Linked DNA regions of Homo sapiens: region 2 is linked to region 1. The links are contacts of gene promoters, found by promoter capture Hi-C in blood cells and fetal thymus (Javierre and others, 2016). All regions are on one chromosome and are shown on one strand. Each heading gives the region's core, a stretch centred on a gene start or on the middle of the fragment in contact. The rest is flanking DNA. Distances are from core to core; before and after follow the strand shown. Region 1 holds the start of BHLHE41 (basic helix-loop-helix family member e41). Region 2 overlaps LOC105369705 (a long non-coding RNA gene).

Region 1 (7,222 bases), core at 2,645-5,144:
TGAGTGCAGGACTTAGGATATTTAGGCAGGGGGGAGAATTGGCCTAAGTATTTCCTTTCATTAGTGTCTCTATAGGTAATGATTTCCTTACTTAACCAAAGAAAAGCAATGGAAGCAGCTACCCCTCGCCTATTAAAAGGAGAAAGATGGATATCTTTAATTGAAAGCAAAGCATCACAAAATTCTTTAATTATAAGCTCAAAGGGGCTTTGAGCTCATCTTGTATCTTCTTGGCTTTCAGCAGGATAGCATTAAGCTTTCCTAAAAAGATAAGACTCAACCTATTTTAAAACATATCCAAAGATGGCATTCTAGTTTCTGTTCCTTTGTTAGCGTACTTTTTTTCCCTTTCTAACCTCACCACAGGTGAACTTTTCCTATTACTAACCTGAAGTCTTCACATTAGAGCTTGGCTCAGTTTGCTCAGCAGAGCTGGTGAACAGCTGGTCACCATCAGCCTTTTCTAAACTGTACTTCCATCTGTCCATCTGTACAAAATTATAAGAGTTAATTAGGATATTTGGATTTAAATCAATAAATTTGAAGCTAGATGCCAACTGAATGACTCACTGACATGGCAAAAGACTGCCTCTCTTCTTGCCATAGCTTTTCTTATCTCTGTCATCAGCTCCAATGCTAACACCTCTCCCTTTTCCATCTCTCTTGCAAAACTCCCCACACAATTTCATTCACACACACACACAAATGTGCACACTTATACTGGTAAATAGAAAAACATCCCTGAAGCAGCTAGTTAACACTTATACCTTACCACTCACTATTCACATTGAGGTGTAAGAGTCGTCCAGGGTCCAGACTCTCGAACCCACTGTCTGGGCTTAAATCCTGGCTCTGGGACCTTGGAAATATTTTGCAATCTCACTTTGTAAGCATTTTCTCATCTGTAGAATGGAAACAATAATAGTATCTACCTTAGAGGGTTGTGGAAATGATTAATGACTTAATACATAAAAAGCTCTTTGAATGCAGTCTGGTACTCTAATCTTAAAGGCTATATAGTTGTTAGCTATTGTTACACCCTTCTTGCGCAAAGGGATATTCAGAGGCATCAAACTATGCCCAATATTCCAGAAGCCAAGAGTTTGAGAAAGAACAGGAATGGGATTCAAGTTTAAGGGAAGTGGGTAACCAAGAAGAGTCACCAGGGTGAAAGATCAAAGAAAAAAAAGGGCAAAAAGCAAACAGGAGATTGACAGAACTACAGAGAAATGGCAAAAGCTGGCATTTAACAGGGAAAAGGTAGACAGAGAACATAAGGGAAAGGAAGATAAAGAAGAAATGAAAAAGGGAAACATGAGTTAAAAGGTGAATATGTAAAGGAAAGACAGAAAAGAAGAGGAAAAGGGGATCAAGAACAACAAAGGAGATAAAAATTGGGAAAAGACCCCATTTGCAGTTTGAGTAGGTATCACGGGAAAAGGGTACGGAAGTGGGGAAGCTTGGGGCAGAAAGGATGGGGGGAGAGAGGAGCCTCAAAGAGATAACAGAAAAAAGCTTCATGTGTCATTTGCAGCTTTTTGTCCCTTTAAATTATGGGGTGCTGCAAGCTTATTTAACCCACCTTTGAGCCTCAAGGCTCCTGATCGTGTTCCTCCTATTTCAACTTGCATTTAATCTCTGCCCCAGACTTAGCTTCTAAGGTTTGCCCTGGTCAGATGTCTGCCTTGTGTTTTTAGCCCGACGAGGCCAAAATGCAATGATCTTGTCTTTATTTCATTTTCCCTAACCAGTCATCCTTTTCAAGTGAAATTTAGCTCTGGAGCAAATATTTACATCCCCTTTCTACTCCAAACATTCAGAAATCTAGAAGGGGACCTGGTGTTTTAATTTTTAAATTATTCACCTAACGGCATTCCCATTTTTAGTCAATTAAAAAGAGGTAAAAATGATACAGTACTGCAGGAATAGGTCGCTTTTAGGGCTCCAACGTGCCCTCCCCATCGAAGGGTCTTAATTACCTAACCTTTTGGAAATAGGAGAGAGGTCGGACCGAGATTTAAAATAAAGTCAGCATTTTAAAAATACTTTTTAAATTAAGAACCATCGTGATTAAATTGCCTGTTTGGTGCAAAATACGTTCCTCTATTTGAGGAAGTCGAGAGACCTTAAAAGGCCCTCTAAACAGATGAACTGAACGGACCGCGAGCGTCTCCTCACGCCGGGGTGATCCTGGGCCGCCGCCGCCGCCCGAGTCACGAAGCCAGACGCAGTGCGCGTCTCCGCCCAGGACTCCGGAGACTGCAGCAGCGCGAGCGGCCGCCGCGGCCCGGGCTGCTCCTGGAGTCGGGGAGGAGACGCGACTCCCGCAGACACGTGACCTCCTCCCAGCCGCCGCTTCCCGCGACCCAGATCCGTCCCCGGAACCCGTGCCCGGCGGGGCGGGCCGGGGGACACGTAGCGGGCGCCCCAGTCCCTGCTGCGCCCTGGTGCATGTACCTTTGGCGTTCTTCTCCCCTCGGTTCACTTATCACCGGCAATAATCAACGTTTCAGAGATCACCCCGGGGAGAATGTAAATATCCCTCTCTGTGCAGGAAAAACCTTGGTTTTTTTCTCTATGTCTTTATGTATATCTAGAGAAATATATATATAGCCTCCATCCCACCCCTGGGAGTCCCTCAGGACATGCCTTCCCCTGGGCTGGCAGGGCGGCGTGGGCAGTGCGCATCCCCGGGCACCTCCCGGTAACTCTCACTAGCAGTGAGTCATGCTCCCAGGGTGGCTCTGGGGAAAGGTAACCCGGCTCTTGCTGGCCTGTGATTCCCGGCGCCGAGCGCCGCGGCTGCAGGGCGAGCGCGCGCGCGCACGGGTTCCCCGAGCAGTGATGTGGCAGCAGCGGCAGGTCGGATCACGTTGCTGGCCCTGTGCTGGTACCCGTTTGAGACCGGATTAAGGAGGGAGGCTTTGGAGGTGCCAGCGGTAGTAAACGTGGGCTCTGCACACTCCGGGCGTCTCTTATCGCGCGGGGGGGCGGGGGGATGGGGAAAGCACGTAGCGTCACCGGAGGCTCAGAACGCGGCAGAGTTGAGCGGGCGGGTGATAAATGCTGCATAGCTTTTCTGTGGTAGCCCCTCTCGTGCCACCCCCTCTCGTGCCACCCCCTTCTCCCTTCCCAGCCCCCACTCAACCCCGGCTCGCTCCCCGCCGCGTTCCTCCAGGAGCACACGCGGCCCCAAACGTCGTCATCTGCTGCTGTGATTAGTGGCACCGCAATTCCGGCTGCTGCGGGGAAGTTTAGTTGGCCCAGGGACGCCGTGTCACCGAAAGACACTTGGATTGCGACATTCGGACCCAGTGACAACGTTTTCATGTATCTTAAATCCTTCAAGGAGCGGATTGCAAGTTGCTTCTTCTCGAGGCAACCTCTCCACCCAGCGCCAAGGAGTCCCTCCAGGCCACTGATCAGTGAGCAAACAAGTCTCCAAAATTTCCTTTGGGACTCAAGTTTACCCACCGCGAATTCTCTTTTCACTTCCTTTCTATGGTTCAAACCAACAGCACAATCGGTGGAAAAGCAAAAAGCCACGTTCACATTCCTGCACCGTAACAACGGACGAACCCAGGGAGTCGCATTTTGGAGCCAAGGAAGCTCAGGCTGCCCCGCACCCCTGCACCCCCACTCCCCCCTCCTCCTGCCGACTGCATCGCCTTTGGGAAGATGAATAGCTTGGCCGAAGTTGTTTTTCCTTTCCGGTGGCCCTGATCAGGTGTCCCCGCCCCCTCCTGCCGTTCGCCTTCTCTCGCCGCCTTCTCCCGACGCCCCCGCCCGGCCCGGCCCCTCCTCCCCCGCCCCCCTCCGGGCTGGACCGCGGATGGTACGTTCCGCACGTGAGCTGGGTGCTGGTCTGGCCGGCGACGCGCGTGCCCTGTGGCCAAACACTGCCTGGAGTGAGAGCAAACTACCAGCGCAGTGGGGCCGGCGCGAGTGTGCGTGTGTGTGCGTGTGTGTGTGCGAGCGCGGTGGAGGGGGGGGACCAACTGCTTCACACTTTCAACACTGCACTGAAGAGGGAGAGCGAGAGAGAGACTGGAGACGCACAGATCCCCCCAAGGTCTCCCAAGCCTACCGTCCCACAGATTATTGTACAGAGCCCCAAAAATCGAAACAGAGGAAACGAACAGCAGTTGAACATGGACGAAGGAATTCCTCATTTGCAAGAGAGACAGTTACTGGAACATAGAGATTTTATAGGGTAAGGTGCACGCACCCTTGCGAATATCTGTCTAGGCTTTGGTTTGATTTTTTTCTTCTCCAGAAAGTGGTATGGAGCTGGCGAGGGCAGAGCCCCTCCCCGAATGGGTGCCTGATGCTGATTTCTGTTTTGCAGACTGGACTATTCCTCTTTGTATATGTGTAAACCCAAAAGGAGCATGAAACGAGACGACACCAAGGTAAGTGTAAGTTCCCGATATTCCTCATAACCTGCATGGGTAGTTAATTAGAGCCATTGATTTCACAGTGAAGCTCTGCCCGCAAATATATTCCAGCCCCTGAGCTTCCCCAACTGTGAATTTTAAGTGGCTTGCTGGGTACTCTCAGGGGGATATTAAACATCATACCTGAATTTAAATTGCATTGCAGAACAGTCCAGAGGAAAGAGGTTTCTTGGGTGTAGTTTATCACATAGTATGTTTTATGGTGGGGGGGCGGGGGGGGCAGACGAGGGTAATATCCAATAAGTGAATGTTTCGCTTACTGTTTTCTCTTTTCCATGACTCTCATATATTAAGGATACCTACAAATTACCGCACAGATTAATAGAAAAGAAAAGAAGAGACCGAATTAATGAATGCATTGCTCAGCTGAAAGATTTACTGCCTGAACATCTGAAATTGACAGTAAGATGCACATTTTCATTCTTTGCTGCTCTCCAAGGGCGTGTTAATAGTCTGGTGCGACTCCCAGAAAATATAAGAATAAATGTAAATATAAGTTCCTGACTTAAAACTTGTGCTATACCGTACAGAGTTTCCCGCAAACTGGAGTAGGTGCTCCCAGCTGAAGGCAAGAAATCATTTATAACCTGTCTTGTGGAAAGCTCAAGAAGTAAAAGAACAGTACTTCTTTCAAAGTGTTTGCTTAAATTGCTGTGCTGAATGGACAGCCAATTAAGCCAAATGTGTGTTTTTAAGTAACCAAGTGCCCGTTTCTTTTTTGCACCACTGCAGACTCTGGGACATCTGGAGAAAGCTGTAGTCTTGGAATTAACTTTGAAACACTTAAAAGCTTTAACCGCCTTAACCGAGCAACAGCATCAGAAGATAATTGCTTTACAGAATGGTAAGTCAGTTCAGGGAGGCCAGCCTACCCTGATGAAGCGGGGCAGCCCACAGGGGAGCAGTGTCAGGACTCCCTCACCCGCACCCCATCTCTTTCCGTGGGCTCATGGGTTCCCTCTCATTTGTTAAATTGCTTATACTTTCCCTTCATTGGAACGAGCCCATTTCCCGAAGCATCCTAGAGGCTTTCAGCAGAACTCGGAGGAATCAGGATTTAAAGTGGCGGTTGCACCCGCTCCACTTTGGTTTTCAGCTGGGAGGAGAGCGCCCTCTCCCCGCTCCGCACCTCCGCCACCCCGCTTCTCTCGTCAACTGGTGGATTATATCACTTGAATACTGGGGAAAAACCGAGATCACTTTAGTCGATGCAGGGCCCACGTGATAAGCAGATGTTTTAACGTGGGTATGTTTCTTCTTGCCTCCACTCCTCCGTCCCCCACCCCCATCCCTTCCTCATCCTAGGGGAGCGATCTCTGAAATCGCCCATTCAGTCCGACTTGGATGCGTTCCACTCGGGATTTCAAACATGCGCCAAAGAAGTCTTGCAATACCTCTCCCGGTTTGAGAGCTGGACACCCAGGGAGCCGCGGTGTGTCCAGCTGATCAACCACTTGCACGCCGTGGCCACCCAGTTCTTGCCCACCCCGCAGCTGTTGACTCAACAGGTCCCTCTGAGCAAAGGCACCGGCGCTCCCTCGGCCGCCGGGTCCGCGGCCGCCCCCTGCCTGGAGCGCGCGGGGCAGAAGCTGGAGCCCCTCGCCTACTGCGTGCCCGTCATCCAGCGGACTCAGCCCAGCGCCGAGCTCGCCGCCGAGAACGACACGGACACCGACAGCGGCTACGGCGGCGAAGCCGAGGCCCGGCCGGACCGCGAGAAAGGCAAAGGCGCGGGGGCGAGCCGCGTCACCATCAAGCAGGAGCCTCCCGGGGAGGACTCGCCGGCGCCCAAGAGGATGAAGCTGGATTCCCGCGGCGGCGGCAGCGGCGGCGGCCCGGGGGGCGGCGCGGCGGCGGCGGCAGCCGCGCTTCTGGGGCCCGACCCTGCCGCCGCGGCCGCGCTGCTGAGACCCGACGCCGCCCTGCTCAGCTCGCTGGTGGCGTTCGGCGGAGGCGGAGGCGCGCCCTTCCCGCAGCCCGCGGCCGCCGCGGCCCCCTTCTGCCTGCCCTTCTGCTTCCTCTCGCCTTCTGCAGCTGCCGCCTACGTGCAGCCCTTCCTGGACAAGAGCGGCCTGGAGAAGTATCTGTACCCGGCGGCGGCTGCCGCCCCGTTCCCGCTGCTATACCCCGGCATCCCCGCCCCGGCGGCAGCCGCGGCAGCCGCCGCCGCCGCTGCCGCCGCCGCCGCCGCGTTCCCCTGCCTGTCCTCGGTGTTGTCGCCCCCTCCCGAGAAGGCGGGCGCCGCCGCCGCGACCCTCCTGCCGCACGAGGTGGCGCCCCTTGGGGCGCCGCACCCCCAGCACCCGCACGGCCGCACCCACCTGCCCTTCGCCGGGCCCCGCGAGCCGGGGAACCCGGAGAGCTCTGCTCAGGAAGATCCCTCGCAGCCAGGAAAGGAAGCTCCCTGAATCCTTGCGTCCCGAAGGACGGAGGTTCAAGCAGAGTGAGAAGTTAAAATACCCTTAAGGAGGTTCAAGCAGAGTGAGAAGTTAAAATACCCTTAAGGTCTTTAAGGGAGGAAGTGTAATAGATGCACGACAGGCATAAACAAGAACAACAAAACAGGTGTTATGTGTACATTCGGAGTTCCTGTTTTGCTCATCCCGCACCACCCCACCCTCCACACACTAACATCCCTTTCTTCCCCCCACCAGCTGTAAAAGATCCTATGCGAAAGACACTGGCTCTTTTTTTTAATCCCCCAAATAAATTTTGCCCCCTTTTAGGCCATGTTCCATTATCTCTTAAAATTGGAACCTAATTCG
Region 2 (7,222 bases), core at 2,810-5,309, 180 kb before region 1:
AACCAGCAGGATCTGCACATGTATCTGAAAACTTAAAGTATAATAATAAAAAAATAGCAGTGAGAAACATCCTTGAACATAATTCTTAAGTTAATCTCTGATTAAGTTCATATACATATGTCAACACATTTAATATTGTGTCTATCCATATAAAAATCAAATTTACTGAATTATGTTATATACAATAGTGTTTACATATGTAAGTATACAATTTGATGACTTTTTTATTATCTTAACCTTTATTATCATTCATGCTGGTAAAATCATCCTAAAATGTGTAGACTGACAGAACCCATGTTATGTTTTTATGATAATTATTCCAAAGAGCAACTTCATAATGAAGTAATATAATTGATTAATTAATTAAATCAGTATCAAAAGCATCCCAAATATTTTTTGAGGGAATAAAAAGACTACGTTCTTTACAGGGAAAATGATTTATTGTAGTCAAGAGTACCAGAGAAGGAGTGGGAAGCGAAATGGGACCGTGAAGGAAACCAATAAATTGTGAATTATTGTGATTATCCTAGGGGAAAAAGGCTTAATCCCATTTCAGAACACTGGGAGACAGTGTAGACCATACTACAGAATTACCCCAGCTGATTGATAGATGAGGAAACTGGGGTATTTATTTATCTACCGCCTTTTTATCATTGGTGTTGTTTTCATTTTTTTTTATTGTGATGAGAACACTTGGCATGAAATCTGCCCTCTTAATAGACTTTTAAATGTAAAATACAGTAATGCTATCTATAGACACAAAGTTGTGTATCCTGTATAATTGAAATATTGTGGCCAGGCTCAGTGGCTCACTCCTGTAATCCCAGCACTTTGGGAGCCCGAGGCGGGAGGATCATTTGAGATCTGGAGTTCGAGACCAGTCTGACCAACACGGTGAAACCCCGTCTCTATTAAAAATACAAAAAATATTAGCTGGGTGTGGTGGTGCACACCTGTAGTCCCAGCTACTCAGGAGGCTAAGGCAGGAGAATCACTTGAACCCAGAAGGTGGAGGTTGCAGTGAGCTAAGATCGTGCCACTGGACTCCAATCTGGGTGACAGAGTGAGACTCCATCTCAAAAAAATAAAAATAAAAATAAAAATATTTTGCCTATTGATTAGCAACTTTCCATTTTCCCCATCCCCCCGCCCCTGACAATAACTATTCACCCTCTGTTTCTATGAGTTTGCCTATTTTAGACGCTTCATATAAGTGCAATTATGCAGTATTTGTCCTTTTCTGACTGGCTCATTTCACTTACTATAATGTCCTCAACATTTATACATGTTGTTCCATGTTGCAGGCTTTCCTTCTTTTGTATAACTAAATAGTATTCTATTACATGTCTATATGACATTGTTAAAAATCCATTAATCTGTCAGTGAACACTTAGTTTTTATTTCCACAGCTTGGCGATTATAAATAGTGCTGCAATGAATATGGGAATGGTAATATCTCTTTGACATCCTGACTTCAGTTCTTTTGGACAAATACCCAGAAGTGGGTTTGCTGAATCCTATGCTAGTTCTATTTTTAATATTTTGAAAAATCTCCATGCTGTTTGTCATAGTGGCAGCATCATTTTGCATTCCCCTCCAACACTGTATAAGGATTCAAATTTCTTTACATTTTATCAACATGTGTTGTCTTTGTGTGTGTGTGTGTGTGTGTGTATTTTTATAATAGCCATCCTAACAAGTGTGAGGTGATATCTCATGGTGGTTTATATTTGCATTTCCCTGATGACTAGTGACTGGGCATCTTTTCATAAACTTGTTGGCCATTTGTATGTCCACTTTGGAAAAATGTGTATTCAAGTCTTTAGCCCAATTATTTAAGCAGGTTACTAGTTTTTTTACTGTTGTGTTATAGGAGTTTCTTATATATAAGTCTTCTTACATATTTTGGAAATTAACCCTTTATCAGAAATATGGTTTGCAAATATTTCCCCATTTTATAGGATGTCTTTTCACTCTGTTGATTGTTTCTTTTCTGGTAGAAGCTTTTTAGTTTGAGGCAGTCCCACTTGTCTATTTTGCTTTGTTACCTATGCTTTTTTTGGTGTCATATCCACAAAATCATTGTCAAGGCCAACGTCATGAAGATTTCTCCCTATGTTTTCCTCTAGGGGTTTTATAGTTCCAGGTCTTACCTTTAAGGCTTTAATCCATTTTGAGTTGATTTTTGTGTATGGTATAAAATAAAGGTCCAATTTTATTATTTTGCATGTGGATATCCAGTTTTCTCAACACCACTTGTTGAAGAGACTATCCTTTCCCCATTGTGTATTGTTGACATCATTGTTAAAGATCAGTTGACCATATATGTGTGGGTTTACTTCTGGGTAACTCGTCTATATTTCTGTCTTTATCCCACCACCACACTGTTTTGATTACTATAACTTTGTGTTATATTTTGAAATCAGAAACTGTGATGCCTCCACCTTTGTTAGTTTTCAAGATTGCATTGACTGTTCAGGTTCTTTTGTGGCTCCATGTGAATTGTGGAATTGGGTATTTTTTTCTATTTCTATAAAAAATGCCATTGGGATTTTGACAGGAATTGCATTGATCTATAGATCGTTTGGGGACATTTTAACAATATTAAGTCTTCAAATCCATGAATGTAGGATGTCTTTCCATTTGTTTGGTCTTCTTTAATTTCTTTTATCAATGTTTTGTAGTTTTCAGGATATACTTCCCTAGTTAATTTCATTCCTAAAAATATTTTTTATGTTATTGTAAATGAGATTGCTAATTTCTCAGACAGTTCATTATTAGTGTATAGAAATGTAATTGATTTTTGTATGTTAATTTTGTATTTTACAACTTTACTCAATTTATTAGTTGTAACAGTTTTTTAGTGGAGTCTTTGGGCTTTTCTATATAAAATCATGTCATCTGCAAATAGGGACAATTTTACTTATTCCTTTCTAATTTGGTTACCTTTTGTTTCTTTTTCTTGCCTGGTTGCTCTGGCTAGGACTTCCAGTACTCTGTTGAATAGAAAGGACTGGGTATCCATGCCTTGTTTCTGATCTTAGTGGAAAAGCTTTCAGTTTTCACCACTGAATATGATGTTAGCTATGAGCTTTCTGTATGTAACATTTATTATGTTGAGGTACTTACTTCCTATTCCTAGTTTGTTGAGAGTTTTTATCATGAAAATGTGTTGAATTTTATCGAATTCTTCTGCATCTATTGAGATAGTCATGTGATTTTATCCTTTATTCTGTTAATGTGATGTATCGCATTAATTAATTTTCATATATTTATCCATCCTTGCATCCCAGGGATAAATCCCACTTGGACATGGTGTGTGACACTTTTAATATGCTGTTGAATTAGTTTGCTGGCATTTTGTTGAAGATTTTTGTATGTATGTTCATCAGGACTATTAGCCTATAGTTTTCGTATAGTGTCTTTGTTTAGCTTTGGTATCGAGGTTTTGCTGGGTTCATAAAAATGAGTTTGGAAGTGTTCCTTCCTTTTCAATTTTTGAAAAGAGTTTGAGAAAAATTGGCATCAATTCTTCTTTAAATGTTTGGTAGAATTCACCAGTGAAGCCATCTGGACCTGGAATTTTCTTTGTTGGGAGGTTTTTGATTACTGACTGCTATGGCTTGAGTGTGTACCCCAAAGTTCATGTGTTAGAAACTTAATCCCCAATGCAACAATGTTGAGAGGTAGGGCCTTTAAGGGGTGATTAGGGCATGAAGGCTCTGCCTTCATGAATGGGATAAAGGCATCAGCTTTATCACAGGAATGGGTTATTTATCATAGAAGTTGGTTCCTGATAAAGGGATGAGTTTGGCTTCTTTCTATTTACTTTCACCCTCTTACCCTTCTGAGTTCCACCATGGGATAATGCAGCACTAAGGCCCTCCAAGATGCCAACAGCATGCTCTTGGACTTCCCAGCCTCCAGAATTGTGAGCCAAATAAATTTCTTTTCTTTATAAATTACCCAGTTTCAGGTATTCTGTTGTAGCAACACAAAATGGACTAGGATGCCGATTCAATCTCCTTATTAGTTATGGCCTGTTCAGACTTTATACTTCTTCGTGATGCACGTTTGGTAGGTTATATGTCTAGGAATTTATCCATTTCTTCAAGATTATCCAGTTTGTTGGCATTCATAATAGTCCCTTATGATCCTTTTTATTCCTGTGGCATCAGTTGTAATGTTTCCTCTTTTACTTCTGATTTTATTTGAATTCTGTCTCTTTTTTCTTAGTCTAGCTAAAGGTTTGTCAACTTAAAAAAATCCAACTCTTGGTTATGATTATTTTTCTGTTGCTTTTCTATTATATATTTCATTAATTTCTGCTGTAATATTTATTATTTACTCCTTCTGTTAACTTTGGGCTTAGTTTGTTCTTCTTCTAGTTTGTTGAGGTGTAAAGTTAGAGATATTTTTTCTTTTTTAATGTAGGTATTTATTAGAAATGCTTTTGCTGCATCTAATTAGTTTGGTATATTGTGTTTTCGGTTTGTCTCAAGATGTTTTCTAATTTTCCTTTTGATTTCTTCTTTGACCCATTAGTTGCTCAAAAGCTATTGTATTGCAGTCTTATAAGTTAAGAACTTTTGACACACACACACACACACACACACACACATACATACACACACAGACACACACACACACACACACACACACACACACATATATATATACACACACATATAACAAACTTCCCATTTAAGATGTAGACTATTTTCATCTCTTCAGAAAATTATTTTGTGTCCCTTTATGATCTCCTGTCCCCTCTTCACAGCTCTCAGGCAACCACTGATCTGATTTCAGCCAATCACTGATCTGATTTCTATCATCATAGATTAGTTTTGCCAGTTCTATAAATTCTTAGAAATGCAATCATATGTATATAATCTCTTATATATGGACTATTTTGCGTAGAATAATGTATTTGATGTTTATCCATGTTGTTCTATGTATCAGTAGTTTGTTTCTTTCTACTGCTAAGAATTTCATTACATGGAAATACCCCAATGTATTTGTTTATTTATTTGTAGTTGGTGATTTGTGTTGTTTTCCAAGCTTTTTACAAATAAAGTTGCTATAAATATTTGTCTATAAGTTATTTATTTATTTATTTTTACATGCACTTTTTGTCTTGTGAGTAGATATCTAGGAACAGAATTGCTGAGTGGTTTGGAAAGTTTATATTTAACATTTAGAAATTTGCCAAACTGTTTTCCAAAGTTGCTGTACTATTTTGCAAGAGTGCCAGTTGTTCCAAATTCTCCAACAGTTGGAATTTTCAGTCCTTTTACTTTTAGCAATTATAATGGGTATACAATATTTCATGGTATTTATTTTCATTTCTCTGATGATTAATGATGTTGAAGATCTTTTCATGTGATTATTTGCCATTTAGCTCTTCTTTCATGAACTCTTTATTCACATTTTGCCTATTTTTGTTTTATCTTCTTACTGCTGAGTTGTAAGAGCTTTTACTATACTCTGGTTACAAGTTCTTTTCCAGATATGTGCATTGAAAATATTTTCTCCTGTTTGTGGCTTGTGTTTTATTTTCTTTTTTGAAGAACAGGTTTTAATTTTATATAAAGTCCAATTTATAATTTTTTGTAGCTAATAAAGTTAATATTTGTGTAAATCACGAAGTATAGATATCCATTTGTTTTTAAGACTCTAAATAGCTTAGTATTTATAATTGGTCATAGTTCAGATAATAACAAGCACAGGACAAAAGCCAACAAATGTGCATTTCAAAAGCTTAATTACAAAACAACATATCTTAAACCAAGAGTTTTGAGGTTTAGTAAATGGGTCACAGGTGCAAAGTAATCATTTTCTAAAGCAGAAGATGGCACGATATATCCATGTGTCCTATCCACATTGTTTTGCATTTAAAGCCTTGAGAAGGAGTCTTCTAGATGGTTTGCTTAGCATTTGTTTTTCCACCTGTTGACTCCTTCCCAGGAAGAGATTTGAAACACATGCTGCTCTAGTAATCTGCTTACATGTGACTAAGGCTGTAGGATAGCAAAGTAACTACAGGCTAACAAAAGTAATTTTGTTGATATTTATTTGAAAACGCAGATGAATGGCAGTTTTGAAAATAATGTAGAAACATGCAGAAAAGTGACCTTCTAACCCTGTTATGTTGGACAGAAGCATGGTGCTTCTCTACACCTTGCTAATGTATAGGCAGATTAGGGACAGACAGCGTAAGAGATTTCATAAACTCAGCTGGTCATGAACATCATCAGTCTGTGCCCTGGGTGTTAGAGGACCTATGTTTGAATTCATCTCACTTTGACTTTCAGTGAATAAATTACCCTTTCTGAGTATCTGTGTTTTACTTTGTAAAGTAGGGATGCTACCTTTGATGTTTGTTGTAATCACTAAATGATATAACACATGAGGAAACATCTAATACATGGCCTTGTCTTATCTGCAGAGGGTAAATACTCGATAGATGTTTGTTGAATCTGAATAAGTTGGATGTTCAAGGTTGTTATTTAAACCAGAATATTCTATTAAAGCTACCACAGGCTGTTAGTACCTTATCTCAAGGTAGCCTTTCAGACTTCTCTGTTACCTGGCCAGGATCCTCTGGGAATGTACTACCAGATAGTCACTTTTGAGCAGGAAAAAAAAAGTCCTATCAAAAAATGAAGAAGAAAATATCAGACATAAGGTATTTCCCAAAGTGGTTTTCATCTCTTGGTGGGGTTTCACCTCTGGAGTAGGTTTCACACTAGGCTTCACACTTGGGCAGGCAGAGTAGATTATTTTGGCTGGGTGACCTTGGAGGGAGAGAAAAAAAAGCCATAAGGGAAACATTAATGAGAAAGAAGCAGAATGCAAGGTCAGAAAGTCAATGTTTTCTTATTTCACATTTAGCCCTTATCTTAGATCATTAATGTTTCAACAGATTTTTCCACGTCACAGCTGGAAGACCTAACATTCTGCTGGATACTATAGACAATTCAGAAACCAGTGTCTATTCTCTGCAAAGAGTAAGCCAGATAGATATAAAATAGTGATTCAGGACCAAAATGATTGACAGACCATGAGCATTTTAGAGTTCAAAAGGAAGCGATATGGAGAATGGGGCTGCCCATGAAGGGCTTCAAAACAAGGGTTAGAAATATGATAGATGTGCTCTCAGGGATGGTGAAGGGGAAGGATTAAACCTGGAAGGACACAAAGGAAACAAGTTTTCCCTGGG

The links. Contacts are between HindIII fragments. The CHiCAGO score rates a contact against its expected background, and 5 or more counts as called.
Region 2: a fragment that was not itself captured here is called in contact with the fragment with the promoter of BHLHE41 in region 1 in 1 of 17 cell types (M2 macrophages); the score reaches 6.6 in M2 macrophages.

What each region holds. Positions count from the first base shown.
Region 1 is chr12:26,121,709-26,128,930 of GRCh38, reverse strand. BHLHE41 (basic helix-loop-helix family member e41) reads left to right here and starts at 3,894. Exons shown (of 5, transcript NM_030762.3): 1 at 3,894-4,213; 2 at 4,349-4,412; 3 at 4,752-4,859; 4 at 5,190-5,301; 5 at 5,763-7,222. The coding sequence starts at 4,152. The coding sequence ends at 6,865. It also overlaps a transcript of SSPN not described here. RefSeq lists a silencer at 2,313-2,482. The HindIII fragment of the contact is 3,679 bases long and covers 1,571-5,249 here.
Region 2 is chr12:26,303,185-26,310,406 of GRCh38, reverse strand. It overlaps LOC105369705 (a long non-coding RNA gene), which reads right to left. Exons shown (of 6, transcript XR_007063249.1): 5 at 6,554-6,797; 6 at 1-31. Among named protein-coding and RNA genes, the nearest start is that of ITPR2-AS2, 12 kb to the left of the region's middle. The HindIII fragment of the contact is 2,009 bases long and covers 3,055-5,063 here.